Linked DNA regions of Homo sapiens: regions 1 and 2 are each linked to region 3. The links are contacts of gene promoters, found by promoter capture Hi-C in human tissues and cell types (Jung and others, 2019). All regions are on one chromosome and are shown on one strand. The core of a region is centred on a gene start or on the middle of the fragment in contact, and the rest is flanking DNA. Distances in the headings are between cores, read along the strand shown.

Region 1 (4,846 bases), core at 1,598-4,097, 1.2 Mb after region 3:
GTCAGTGAGTCTTCTGGATGTCCTATAGGCAACTCACTGGATCCACTTGGTCTGTGGAAGAATCACTACCACATCCATTTCACCTTGGGCACAGACTAGAAGGTGAGGCAGTCATGTCCTGCAGTCACTGGGTAGCTTACAAGTGCTAATACAGCAATAGCTTAATTAGAGAGAGAGAGAAGAAGAAGAATGTTATGGAGCCTGTTTCTAGAGAGGAAACCACAATATCTTGATCAAGAGACCCTAAAACTGGAAGAACCAGAGCAGCTGGTATCAAAATGTGGAAAAAACTGAGATGTGGCAAGTGGTACAACTGATAGCCAAGGAGGAAAAATTTGTATCCCCCTGTAATCCCAGCACTTTGGGAGGCTGAAACAGGTGGATCACCTGAGGTCAGGAGTTCGAGACCAGCCTGGCCAATATGGTGAAACCCTGTCTCTACTAAAAATACAAAAATTAGCTGGGCGTGGTGGTGTGCACCTATAGTCCCAGCTACTTGGGAGGCTGAGGCAGGAAAATTGCTTGAACCTGGGAGCAGAGGTTGCAGTGAGCCAAGATCGCACCACTGCACTCCAGCCTGGGTGACAAGAGTTAAACTCTGTCTCAAAAAAATAAAAAGAAAAGTTTGTACCCTCTTCTTTTCTCTTGCCTCAGGATAACTGAGATTCTTATAATGCATTTATTGAACAAATATTTGAGGAGTACTCATTATGTAAGCATCAGACACTGCTCAAGGTCTTGAGGCTGTGAGGGTGTATTAGTCCGTTTTCACACTGCTATAAAGAACTACCTGAGACTGGGTGATTTATAAAGAAAAGAGGTTTAACTGAATTACAGTTCATCATGGCCAGAAAGGCCTCAGGAAACTTACAATCATGGCAGAAGGTGAAGAGGAAGCAAGGCACATCTTACATGGTGGCAGGAGACACAGTGAGAAGGGAGAAGTGCCACACTTTTAAACCATCAGATCTTATGATGATATAGGAGTTAAGAAGAAATCACTTAGGTAGATAGTGAGGGTACGGGAGTCCTTGGTAAGGCTTTTCTTTTAAATGAAAAGCAGCCCCACACATAGACAAGCAAGCTGGGAGCTTGCACGGGTGAATGCCGGCAGAAACTAGGAACCAGACACGTTAAGATGGCGGCTCCATTTTCCCTTCTCTGCCAGCCAAGTGTACAGTAAGGAGCAGACAAGCTGGTGCCGGCCAAGAGGAGAATTCATGTGCATAATAAGATTAGGGTGGGGTGACCAGCCTTCCCAGTGCGCTATGTGAACATCATACCTGATTGAACCAATCTGTGAGCCCTATGTAAATCAGACACCACCTCCTCAAGCCTGACTATAAAATCTGGTGCATTCGCCACCCGCCGGTGTTTCCTCTCAGAAGTCCCCTCTCTCTCATTAGAGAGAGGGCTGTTTTCCTTTCTCCTTCTTCTGCCTATTAACCTGTGCTCCTAAACTCCCTGTGTGTGTCTGTTCTGAATTTTCCCGGCATGAGAGGATGAACCTGGGGTATATACCCCAGAAAACATAGCCACTTAAGTGAGAACTCACTCACTATTCACCCCCAAGATCCAATCACCTTCGACCAGGTTCCTCCCCTGGCGTGAGGGGATTAAAATTCCACATGAGGTTTGAGTAGGGACACAGAGCCAAACCAAACCATATCAGAGGGTGAAGAGCAGGTAAAGTTGCAGCTCTCCTGCAACTTGCAGGGAAAGGCCATATAACACATGGTTATGAGCACAAACTGGGACTGGACTGCAGGTGTGTGAGCCCCAGCTTTGCTATTGAGTGACCACCAGCAAGTTATTAAACTGTGCCTCAGTTTTTTTGTTTATGAAATGGTGGTATTAGTACAACCCACCTCTCATGGATGATGTGAGGATTAAATAAAATAACATGTTGCCAGGCACAGTGGTGCACACCTGTAATCTCGGCACATTGGGAGGCTGAGGCCCGAGGGTTACTTGAGGTTAGAAGCCTGAGACCTGCCTGGCCAACATAGCGAAACCTCATCTCTGCTTAAAATACAAAAAAAAAAAAAAAAAAAAAAAAAAAAAAAGGCCAGGCGTGGTGGCTCATGCTTGTAATCCCAGCACTTTGGGAGGCCGAGGCGGGTGGATCACAAGGTCAGGAGTTTGAGACCAGCCTGGCCAATATGGTGAATCCCCGTCTCTACTAAAAATACAAAAATTAGCCAAGTGTGGTGGTGGGCACCTGTAGTCCCAGCTACTCGGGAGGCTGAGGCAGGAGAATCACTTGAACCTGGGAGGCAGAAGTTGCAGTGAGCCGAGGTTGCGCCACTGCACTCCAGCCTGGGCGACGGAGCGAGACTCCATCTCAAAACAAAACAAAAAAACCAAAAAAATTAACCAGGCATGGTGGCACACACCTGTAATCCCAGCTACTCAGGAGGCTGAGGCAGGAGAATCACTTGAACCCAGGAGGTGGAGGTTGCAGTGAGTTAAGATTGTGCCACTGCACTCCAGCCTGTGCGATAGAAGGAGACAGTCTGCAACAAAGATCCAAAAACAAATATAAAGCACTTATAACAGGGTCTGGTCTGAAATAAGTACTATGTAAGTACTGTAAGTATTAACTAATATTATTACAATTTATCCTCATATAGTAACATATCAAATATTTTCAGTCAGTGATGCAATATGAATAAAATGAAATGATGCAGTAGTGACAGAACTGAGAGAAAGCTGGTACAAATTTATACTGACTGGTCAGGGAAAGCTTCACAGAAAAGGTGAACTTTCAGCTGACACCTGAGTACCATGGTCTGGAGGTAAGAGTGTCCCATGCATATGGAACAGCAAATGAAACTTCCCAGAGCATAATCTGAGAGGGGAGATTTCAGGAGTGGAGCCACATCATTGAAGTTCCTTAGTCCTGGTAAGTGTGGATTTTATTCTAAGTGTGGTGAAATGCCCCTGAGAGGTTTTGAGTAGTAGATGGAATTCCATTTTTAAAAGTCACTGGTGAGTCAAGTAGTGTACTATGGTTACATTTTTTTCCCCTTATACCTCATTTTGTTTTTCCTGCAGTTAATTCTTGCATTATTTCCTTTTATTTACTTACCTTACTATATATTTATTATGAATTCTTTCCAATTCCCAACTTCCTGACAGCCTCTCAATGTAATTTTACTTAGGTTAAATGTATCTGACAGTTCATTTTCTTTTTTGTCTCTGTACTCTTTCTGCTACCATTCTCATTCTTGCACTAATTTGTGCTGGTTTCTCTCTGAGCCAGCTGCACAGCTGCCTGCCTAAGACTTCCTCTTGGCATCTTTTACCCTCTCTCTGTGTTACATCCCCGGTTTTCTGAATCGTGTGGCGTTCTCCTTTTTACTTTACTTCCTCATTTGTGTTGCACGTATGCTCTAGTTGTTTTTAGATAAAGAGTGCATCAGAGGTAGATGTTTTGATTCCTTACATGCCTGACTTTTTGTTCTACTTTTGCTCTAGGTTAATACTTGATTTTGAATAATATCCTAGGTTAGAAATGATTTTTCGTCAGAATTTTAAGGGAATTGCTTTTCTGTTGTCTAGTTTCCTGTGTTACTGATAGGAAGTCCAAAGGGGCTCGTATTTCAGGTCCTTTTTATGTGTAACCTGTTTTTTGTTCCTTGAGGTATTCAGGGTCTCTTTTTATTGCTAATTTGGGGAGCTTTATCATAACATGGGTCCTTAGTCATTCATCCTAGAAAATTTTCCTTTCCTATATCTTTGATGATTTCGTCTCCTCTGCTTTCCCTCTTTTCTCATTCTTAAACTTCTATTTGTTTGACATTAGACCTCCTTGTTTGATCTTCTAATTTAATTTTTCTCTCCTAGTGTCCAATTTTTGAGGTGGGAGAAAGATCTCATCAATGTTATCTTTCAGCCTTTCCCCTGAATTTTAAAATTTTACTCTTCATATTTCTTCTGATTAATCCTTTAAAAAAATAGCATCCTGGGCCAGGTGCAGTGGCTCACACCTGTAATCCCAGCACTTTGGAAGGCTGAGCGGGGAGTGGATCACCTGAGGTCAGGAGCTCAAGACCAGTCTGGCCAACATGATGAAACCCTGTCTCTACTAAAAATACAAAAACTTAGCCAGGCGTGGTGGTGGGCTCCTGTAGTCCCAGCTACTTGGGAGGCTGAGACAGGAGAATCACCAGAACCTGGGAGGTGGAGGTTGTAGTGAGCTGAGATTGTGTGCCATTGTACTCCAACCTGGGTGACAGAGCAAGACTCTATCTCAAAAAAAAAAAAAAAAAAAAAAGGGCCCTGTTCCACTGAGGCTTCAGTGCGGAGCATGGAGGGATACTACCTCCAAATTCCAAACACGTTTGACACATCTAAAGAACCTTCTAAAGGATGACTAAACTAATTCTGCAAGCTTTAGCCTCTAACTTATCTCCAATTTATATTTAATAGAAGGCTGGAAATTGAACAGAAAGGAAATAAGATTATTTGGAAATAAAAAATTGTCAGCCAAGCAAGGAGAGCTTGGCATTTCTGGAAACTTCTTTACCCTGGAAGAGGTAAAAAAGTGATTCTCCCATTCCCCCAACAGGGCATTCACTAAAAATTAAGTGAGAAATGCTTTGCCTAGAGGATCTGTAGCTTGCGAACACTTGACTTGTGCCACTGGTGTACGGAACATAGCAGTGTCAGCTCTGCCCTGGGACAGTCAAGGCTGGCTGGTGCTGCCTGTGGTTAGAGTCAAGAGAGGGGTCTTCAGTGGGTGCAGTTTGCAGTTCCAGAGTTTAGTAGAGCAAAGACGTCATGAACTATGTGAACTCTGAGGAAAGGTGTCATAGAAACACCTCAAAAGGACACTGTCTAA
Region 2 (4,513 bases), core at 1,920-4,419, 1.2 Mb before region 3:
CCAAGGAAAGGCCATGTGAAAACTTAGTGAGAAGGTGGCCATCTGCAAGCCAGGAAGAGAGGCCTCACCAGAAACCAAAACCTGCCCAAACTTTCATTTTTGACTTGTAGCCTCCAGAACTATGAGAAAATAAGTTTCTGTTGTTTAAGCTAACCAGCCTGTTGTGTTCTGTTATGGAAGTCTAAGCAGACATACATAGATTATAAATTTAGAAGAAACCTTAAAAGAACTGAGAAACACTAAAACAGGCTACCAAAAAATTAATAGCTTATGTAGTAAGATGTGTAAACTGCTTCTTAAAAATTCTAATATAAACACTCTTAACACTGCGTCAGTGGATGCTCCTTTATATTACATGTGTTAAAGAACTCATACCTGCTCTTTTTCAAGCATATCAGACTTTCTCAATATCTTCATTGCATAGATATGGCCTGTATCTTTCTTCTGGACCAACCGCACCTAAAAGATAAAAAACATATATTATAAAACAGTCACTACTATTTGTTCAGGAAAGAAAAGTAACTTCCCTTAAAGAAAGCAGGAATTTGCCAGTGTTGGTATTTCAGGAATTTTATATATATATATCTATATATTTTTATATCTATATATTTTTATATATGTTATATATATATTTATATATATTTTATATATATTAATATATATTTATATATATTTATATATTTACATTTATATATATTTATATTTATATATATTTTTTTATATATACATACAAACACATATATATATTTTTTTGAGAGAGCGTTTCACTCATGTTGCCCAGGCTGGAGTGCAATGGTGGGATCTCAGCTCACTGCAACTTCTGCCTCCTGGGCTCAAGCGATTCTCCTGCCTCAGCCTCCCAAGTAGCTGGGATTACAGGTGCCCACCACCACGCCCAGCTAATTTTTGTATTTTTATAGAGACGGGGTTTCACTGGCCAGGCTGGTCTCGAACTCCTGACCTCAGGCGATCCACCCGCCTCGGCCTCCCAAAGTATTGGGATTACAGGCGTGAGCCACCGCACCCAGCCAGGAATTATATTTTAACACATATTTTAAATTATCTTAAGATATATATTTGCAGCAGTAGTGACTTTTAAAAAGAAGCACACCTCTCCAAAAGCTCCTCTTCCTATAACTTTCAGAGACTCAAAGTCATCCAAGCCAAGTCTGGTCCTTTTGAGCCGTAAGAACTCTGTTTCTTTGCGAGCGTGTTGTGATCGACGTAACTTTTTCTATTAAAAAAAAACAATTTAAACGGATGATTTTATAATTAGGTTGTTTTGATGGAGCTTCTAGTATTAAAAGATGATACACGTAAAAATAAATGATAGCACTAATATGTAATATACTATTAGGCTAAAACAATTTAAAGAAAACTTTCTAAAATTTTTAACAACTGATAAATCTTTACTTTTGAGGTGGACTCCATTAAATATGTAATTCAGTCCATCATATTTGTCTATATATATATATATGTATAACTTATTCTTTCATCTATATGGTAACAATTCCATAAATAAAAATTAAATGTTAGTAAATGTTAATGGTATTCTGATACTGATTTTTATTCTGTCAGGAAATCTGCTTTGCTTCAATTCCTTAATTTCCAAGGTTGCTCTTTCACAACTACTGAGACTTGTGACAATAAAATAACAACATAATGGTAGTGTTTCCAAAGAGATTTACTTGTGGTAGAATTTACTCTTGGGCAAATTTTAATAAACTGCTTGAGACCTGGCATAGAACTTCCTGAAAATATAAAATTGCAAAAACAATTACAAGAAGAAGTCATTAAAATATCCAAGTTGGTAATTTCATAACTGATTCTACAAAGACCACAAAAAATAACTTCCATTAATAAGCAATACTGTGAAATACCTGCAGGTTACATTTGGAACAGGTATTTATTTTATTGTTCTAAACTTCATTTTTCACCCTCACCAATCAAAATTCTGTTTTTGGACATAGTTAGCTCCTAGTAGAGGAAACACTAAGTGGAAAAGAAACAATATCAGTGAAAAAATTTAACTCCTGTTCATCTTCAACTGAATCCTGCCAAGCTTTTAGTGGTTCAGTTTGGAGGGACAGACAAATCAAAATGAAAGTAACAGCTTAGAAACATTGCTTCTAAATGCAGCTCATGGTATAGCCTCTCCCTACTCCTGTATATATCTGTTTTTAAAAGGGTTAGGTGAACTATTAATTAGAAATATGTATGTAAACATGTATTATCAATGCAATGGAATTCTGATACTTCTAACAAAGTTAATCTAAGAAGATGAAATCAAGAAATGTCTTCAAACAGCTAAATGAAGTTATACACTAAGGCACACCAATGGTGTAAATTATGACAGTAATGAAGATAAAAATCAAGTACACAAATTAACAGGCTTTGCCTAATGTCTTTTTTTAATGTCTTTAATGTCTTTTTTTAAATGTCTTTTTCCACATCTGATATTGATTATAAAATACAATGGTACTATGGAAAAAGTAAGCAAACAACAATGAAAGATTATTTTTTTCAGTAAGAAGTGAGGCGATAAGCCGGGTGTGGTGGCTCACGCCTATAATCCCAGCACTTTGGGAGGCCGAGGTGGATGGATCATGAAGTCAGGAGATCGAGACCATCCTGGCCAACATGGTAAAACCCCGTCTCTACTAAAAATACAAAAATTAGCCGGGCGTGGTGGCATGCACCTGTACTCAGGAGGCTGAGGCAGGAGAATCACTTGAACCCGGGAGGCAGAGGTTGCAGTGAGCTGAGATCCCATTGCACTCCAGCCTGGGTGACAAGACCGAAACTCCATCTCAAATATATGTGTGTGTGTGTGTGTGTGTGTGTGTGTGTGTGTGTGTTTATAAAATTCCTGAAATACCAACACTGGCAAATTCCTGCTTTCTTTAAGGGAAGCTACTTAAATATCAGTTTTAACGGAGCTAAAATTACATTGATATAATTAAGAAAACAAATGTGGCCTGAAACAATAGTGAAGACTATTTTTTGCTGCTTTTTACCTAAATGCAATGACAAATACCCTTTTTTGCACATAGGTGTTCAAAAATACCTTTTGAATAATAAAAAAATAAATTACTAGTAAAACAAAAGAGAGCTCTAAAAAGTATCTGATTTTAAATTTTAAGACTAATTTTTAAAAGGCCACTTGGTGGCACTATAGTATCATGTCCTTTAAGGAAGTAGTGAGGAGGGTTTTTTTTTAATTACATAAAAGAATAAGAATTTTGAAAGTATTTTGAATCTCTCCCTTTATAGATTATAAAACAGTACAGTTGGATATAGTTGCAGAAATCCTGCTTAATCTGAATGGAAAAGATGACATCACTATACACAGTTTCATAAATTGTCTAGTAGTTTGTATAATGCAGCACTCACACAATTTATGTGGTTTTGGGCCCAGCCATTTAATAGCAAAAAGAGAGAGTCACAAGTGTATGGAACACATAATTCTATAAAAATGAGCATCACCTATAACATTGTTACATTAGTTAAAAAAAATTGATTCCATGATTTTAGTCTTAGAATCAGTGTTGCAGTCCAGAGGTAGCTGAATCAAATTCATGTTAAAAAAAAAATTGGTGAAAAAGCCTGTTGATATATCTACTCACAACCTGTATAGATTAAGTAGCCTTGAAAGACAAACAGTATCCTTGTGGTAATTGCATCCTTTCCTCTTCAAAGAAGACAATAAAAATCTGTGGACAGCTTAACATTTCACGACTCTCTTTTATAGCTTGAACTTGCCTATTTAGTTTTTCATTAGAGTAAATAACATTCCATGTTGGATGGGATTTTCTTAAGTGAGATGAAACTAGAAAGTGCTTTTCTTCCTTTCTCCATTCCTTTTTATATAGGTGTTCCTCAAACTCTCCATCTGTAGGGTGGCCAGTATTTGTATAAGACAGACAGTGCATACAAAATTTTTCAGATGAAAAGGGTTCAGCTAGCAACTTTATCTATTTTATTTTTATGAGACAATTTTATTTTTTATCAAACCCACCCCATATAAAGATGCTGTAACATACTTTATATTAAGGTTGAGAGAGCTTGTCTATTTTACAGAATTTGATATAATCCAGGCTCTAGCATGGAGCCTAATAATAAGCACCTGTGGAATTAAAAACATTTTTTAGAGAAAAACATTAGAAGTTTTATAAACTGGTATTATGGGCCACTGACTATTTTTTATGGAAAAATCATCTCCTATTTTCTACAAGTTATTCAGAAAAATTAGAGAAAATAGCTGTAAATGTAGTCAGTACTTGCTGATGCAGACCAGAAGTTGCAAACAGGAAGCTACAAACTATATTCAACCTACAGATATATTTGATTTGGACTGCAAGTTGTTTTTCAAAAGCAGGTGATTGGTTATTCTGCAAAAAAAGTCCAGATTACTAGCTTCTCTGGAAAAACAGGGCCTTGGCCACAGGGGCCAATGGTAGCAATCCTCTTTAGATGAGCCTTGGTTCCCTAATTTGTCAGTCCCCACCACTGA
Region 3 (4,942 bases), core at 655-3,154:
GAAATAGGAGAGAGGTCGGACCGAGATTTAAAATAAAGTCAGCATTTTAAAAATACTTTTTAAATTAAGAACCATCGTGATTAAATTGCCTGTTTGGTGCAAAATACGTTCCTCTATTTGAGGAAGTCGAGAGACCTTAAAAGGCCCTCTAAACAGATGAACTGAACGGACCGCGAGCGTCTCCTCACGCCGGGGTGATCCTGGGCCGCCGCCGCCGCCCGAGTCACGAAGCCAGACGCAGTGCGCGTCTCCGCCCAGGACTCCGGAGACTGCAGCAGCGCGAGCGGCCGCCGCGGCCCGGGCTGCTCCTGGAGTCGGGGAGGAGACGCGACTCCCGCAGACACGTGACCTCCTCCCAGCCGCCGCTTCCCGCGACCCAGATCCGTCCCCGGAACCCGTGCCCGGCGGGGCGGGCCGGGGGACACGTAGCGGGCGCCCCAGTCCCTGCTGCGCCCTGGTGCATGTACCTTTGGCGTTCTTCTCCCCTCGGTTCACTTATCACCGGCAATAATCAACGTTTCAGAGATCACCCCGGGGAGAATGTAAATATCCCTCTCTGTGCAGGAAAAACCTTGGTTTTTTTCTCTATGTCTTTATGTATATCTAGAGAAATATATATATAGCCTCCATCCCACCCCTGGGAGTCCCTCAGGACATGCCTTCCCCTGGGCTGGCAGGGCGGCGTGGGCAGTGCGCATCCCCGGGCACCTCCCGGTAACTCTCACTAGCAGTGAGTCATGCTCCCAGGGTGGCTCTGGGGAAAGGTAACCCGGCTCTTGCTGGCCTGTGATTCCCGGCGCCGAGCGCCGCGGCTGCAGGGCGAGCGCGCGCGCGCACGGGTTCCCCGAGCAGTGATGTGGCAGCAGCGGCAGGTCGGATCACGTTGCTGGCCCTGTGCTGGTACCCGTTTGAGACCGGATTAAGGAGGGAGGCTTTGGAGGTGCCAGCGGTAGTAAACGTGGGCTCTGCACACTCCGGGCGTCTCTTATCGCGCGGGGGGGCGGGGGGATGGGGAAAGCACGTAGCGTCACCGGAGGCTCAGAACGCGGCAGAGTTGAGCGGGCGGGTGATAAATGCTGCATAGCTTTTCTGTGGTAGCCCCTCTCGTGCCACCCCCTCTCGTGCCACCCCCTTCTCCCTTCCCAGCCCCCACTCAACCCCGGCTCGCTCCCCGCCGCGTTCCTCCAGGAGCACACGCGGCCCCAAACGTCGTCATCTGCTGCTGTGATTAGTGGCACCGCAATTCCGGCTGCTGCGGGGAAGTTTAGTTGGCCCAGGGACGCCGTGTCACCGAAAGACACTTGGATTGCGACATTCGGACCCAGTGACAACGTTTTCATGTATCTTAAATCCTTCAAGGAGCGGATTGCAAGTTGCTTCTTCTCGAGGCAACCTCTCCACCCAGCGCCAAGGAGTCCCTCCAGGCCACTGATCAGTGAGCAAACAAGTCTCCAAAATTTCCTTTGGGACTCAAGTTTACCCACCGCGAATTCTCTTTTCACTTCCTTTCTATGGTTCAAACCAACAGCACAATCGGTGGAAAAGCAAAAAGCCACGTTCACATTCCTGCACCGTAACAACGGACGAACCCAGGGAGTCGCATTTTGGAGCCAAGGAAGCTCAGGCTGCCCCGCACCCCTGCACCCCCACTCCCCCCTCCTCCTGCCGACTGCATCGCCTTTGGGAAGATGAATAGCTTGGCCGAAGTTGTTTTTCCTTTCCGGTGGCCCTGATCAGGTGTCCCCGCCCCCTCCTGCCGTTCGCCTTCTCTCGCCGCCTTCTCCCGACGCCCCCGCCCGGCCCGGCCCCTCCTCCCCCGCCCCCCTCCGGGCTGGACCGCGGATGGTACGTTCCGCACGTGAGCTGGGTGCTGGTCTGGCCGGCGACGCGCGTGCCCTGTGGCCAAACACTGCCTGGAGTGAGAGCAAACTACCAGCGCAGTGGGGCCGGCGCGAGTGTGCGTGTGTGTGCGTGTGTGTGTGCGAGCGCGGTGGAGGGGGGGGACCAACTGCTTCACACTTTCAACACTGCACTGAAGAGGGAGAGCGAGAGAGAGACTGGAGACGCACAGATCCCCCCAAGGTCTCCCAAGCCTACCGTCCCACAGATTATTGTACAGAGCCCCAAAAATCGAAACAGAGGAAACGAACAGCAGTTGAACATGGACGAAGGAATTCCTCATTTGCAAGAGAGACAGTTACTGGAACATAGAGATTTTATAGGGTAAGGTGCACGCACCCTTGCGAATATCTGTCTAGGCTTTGGTTTGATTTTTTTCTTCTCCAGAAAGTGGTATGGAGCTGGCGAGGGCAGAGCCCCTCCCCGAATGGGTGCCTGATGCTGATTTCTGTTTTGCAGACTGGACTATTCCTCTTTGTATATGTGTAAACCCAAAAGGAGCATGAAACGAGACGACACCAAGGTAAGTGTAAGTTCCCGATATTCCTCATAACCTGCATGGGTAGTTAATTAGAGCCATTGATTTCACAGTGAAGCTCTGCCCGCAAATATATTCCAGCCCCTGAGCTTCCCCAACTGTGAATTTTAAGTGGCTTGCTGGGTACTCTCAGGGGGATATTAAACATCATACCTGAATTTAAATTGCATTGCAGAACAGTCCAGAGGAAAGAGGTTTCTTGGGTGTAGTTTATCACATAGTATGTTTTATGGTGGGGGGGCGGGGGGGGCAGACGAGGGTAATATCCAATAAGTGAATGTTTCGCTTACTGTTTTCTCTTTTCCATGACTCTCATATATTAAGGATACCTACAAATTACCGCACAGATTAATAGAAAAGAAAAGAAGAGACCGAATTAATGAATGCATTGCTCAGCTGAAAGATTTACTGCCTGAACATCTGAAATTGACAGTAAGATGCACATTTTCATTCTTTGCTGCTCTCCAAGGGCGTGTTAATAGTCTGGTGCGACTCCCAGAAAATATAAGAATAAATGTAAATATAAGTTCCTGACTTAAAACTTGTGCTATACCGTACAGAGTTTCCCGCAAACTGGAGTAGGTGCTCCCAGCTGAAGGCAAGAAATCATTTATAACCTGTCTTGTGGAAAGCTCAAGAAGTAAAAGAACAGTACTTCTTTCAAAGTGTTTGCTTAAATTGCTGTGCTGAATGGACAGCCAATTAAGCCAAATGTGTGTTTTTAAGTAACCAAGTGCCCGTTTCTTTTTTGCACCACTGCAGACTCTGGGACATCTGGAGAAAGCTGTAGTCTTGGAATTAACTTTGAAACACTTAAAAGCTTTAACCGCCTTAACCGAGCAACAGCATCAGAAGATAATTGCTTTACAGAATGGTAAGTCAGTTCAGGGAGGCCAGCCTACCCTGATGAAGCGGGGCAGCCCACAGGGGAGCAGTGTCAGGACTCCCTCACCCGCACCCCATCTCTTTCCGTGGGCTCATGGGTTCCCTCTCATTTGTTAAATTGCTTATACTTTCCCTTCATTGGAACGAGCCCATTTCCCGAAGCATCCTAGAGGCTTTCAGCAGAACTCGGAGGAATCAGGATTTAAAGTGGCGGTTGCACCCGCTCCACTTTGGTTTTCAGCTGGGAGGAGAGCGCCCTCTCCCCGCTCCGCACCTCCGCCACCCCGCTTCTCTCGTCAACTGGTGGATTATATCACTTGAATACTGGGGAAAAACCGAGATCACTTTAGTCGATGCAGGGCCCACGTGATAAGCAGATGTTTTAACGTGGGTATGTTTCTTCTTGCCTCCACTCCTCCGTCCCCCACCCCCATCCCTTCCTCATCCTAGGGGAGCGATCTCTGAAATCGCCCATTCAGTCCGACTTGGATGCGTTCCACTCGGGATTTCAAACATGCGCCAAAGAAGTCTTGCAATACCTCTCCCGGTTTGAGAGCTGGACACCCAGGGAGCCGCGGTGTGTCCAGCTGATCAACCACTTGCACGCCGTGGCCACCCAGTTCTTGCCCACCCCGCAGCTGTTGACTCAACAGGTCCCTCTGAGCAAAGGCACCGGCGCTCCCTCGGCCGCCGGGTCCGCGGCCGCCCCCTGCCTGGAGCGCGCGGGGCAGAAGCTGGAGCCCCTCGCCTACTGCGTGCCCGTCATCCAGCGGACTCAGCCCAGCGCCGAGCTCGCCGCCGAGAACGACACGGACACCGACAGCGGCTACGGCGGCGAAGCCGAGGCCCGGCCGGACCGCGAGAAAGGCAAAGGCGCGGGGGCGAGCCGCGTCACCATCAAGCAGGAGCCTCCCGGGGAGGACTCGCCGGCGCCCAAGAGGATGAAGCTGGATTCCCGCGGCGGCGGCAGCGGCGGCGGCCCGGGGGGCGGCGCGGCGGCGGCGGCAGCCGCGCTTCTGGGGCCCGACCCTGCCGCCGCGGCCGCGCTGCTGAGACCCGACGCCGCCCTGCTCAGCTCGCTGGTGGCGTTCGGCGGAGGCGGAGGCGCGCCCTTCCCGCAGCCCGCGGCCGCCGCGGCCCCCTTCTGCCTGCCCTTCTGCTTCCTCTCGCCTTCTGCAGCTGCCGCCTACGTGCAGCCCTTCCTGGACAAGAGCGGCCTGGAGAAGTATCTGTACCCGGCGGCGGCTGCCGCCCCGTTCCCGCTGCTATACCCCGGCATCCCCGCCCCGGCGGCAGCCGCGGCAGCCGCCGCCGCCGCTGCCGCCGCCGCCGCCGCGTTCCCCTGCCTGTCCTCGGTGTTGTCGCCCCCTCCCGAGAAGGCGGGCGCCGCCGCCGCGACCCTCCTGCCGCACGAGGTGGCGCCCCTTGGGGCGCCGCACCCCCAGCACCCGCACGGCCGCACCCACCTGCCCTTCGCCGGGCCCCGCGAGCCGGGGAACCCGGAGAGCTCTGCTCAGGAAGATCCCTCGCAGCCAGGAAAGGAAGCTCCCTGAATCCTTGCGTCCCGAAGGACGGAGGTTCAAGCAGAGTGAGAAGTTAAAATACCCTTAAGGAGGTTCA

Evidence for each region. Contacts are between HindIII fragments. The study calls those that stand out against the background at their distance.
Region 1: a contact is called between a fragment that was not itself captured here and the fragment with the promoter of BHLHE41 in region 3, in 1 of the 25 tissues and cell types used here (H1 embryonic stem cells).
Region 2: a fragment that was not itself captured here is called in contact with the fragment with the promoter of BHLHE41 in region 3 in 1 of the 25 tissues and cell types used here (spleen).

Annotation. Positions count from the first base shown.
Region 1 is chr12:24,930,330-24,935,175 of GRCh38, reverse strand. The region is part of intron 1 of BCAT1 (branched chain amino acid transaminase 1); the gene reads left to right. Among named protein-coding and RNA genes, the nearest start is that of BCAT1, 16 kb to the left of the region's middle. RefSeq lists an enhancer at 3,423-3,612. The HindIII fragment of the contact is 4,709 bases long and covers 493-4,846 here.
Region 2 is chr12:27,305,060-27,309,572 of GRCh38, reverse strand. It overlaps STK38L (serine/threonine kinase 38 like), which reads right to left. Exons shown (of 14, transcript NM_015000.4): 4 at 1,112-1,234; 5 at 376-459. Among named protein-coding and RNA genes, the nearest start is that of BMAL2, 26 kb to the left of the region's middle. The HindIII fragment of the contact is 4,420 bases long and covers 960-4,513 here.
Region 3 is chr12:26,121,999-26,126,940 of GRCh38, reverse strand. It overlaps BHLHE41 (basic helix-loop-helix family member e41), which reads left to right and starts at 1,904. Exons shown (of 5, transcript NM_030762.3): 1 at 1,904-2,223; 2 at 2,359-2,422; 3 at 2,762-2,869; 4 at 3,200-3,311; 5 at 3,773-4,942. The coding sequence starts at 2,162. The coding sequence ends at 4,875. It also overlaps a transcript of SSPN not described here. RefSeq lists a silencer at 323-492. The HindIII fragment of the contact is 3,249 bases long and covers 1,419-4,667 here.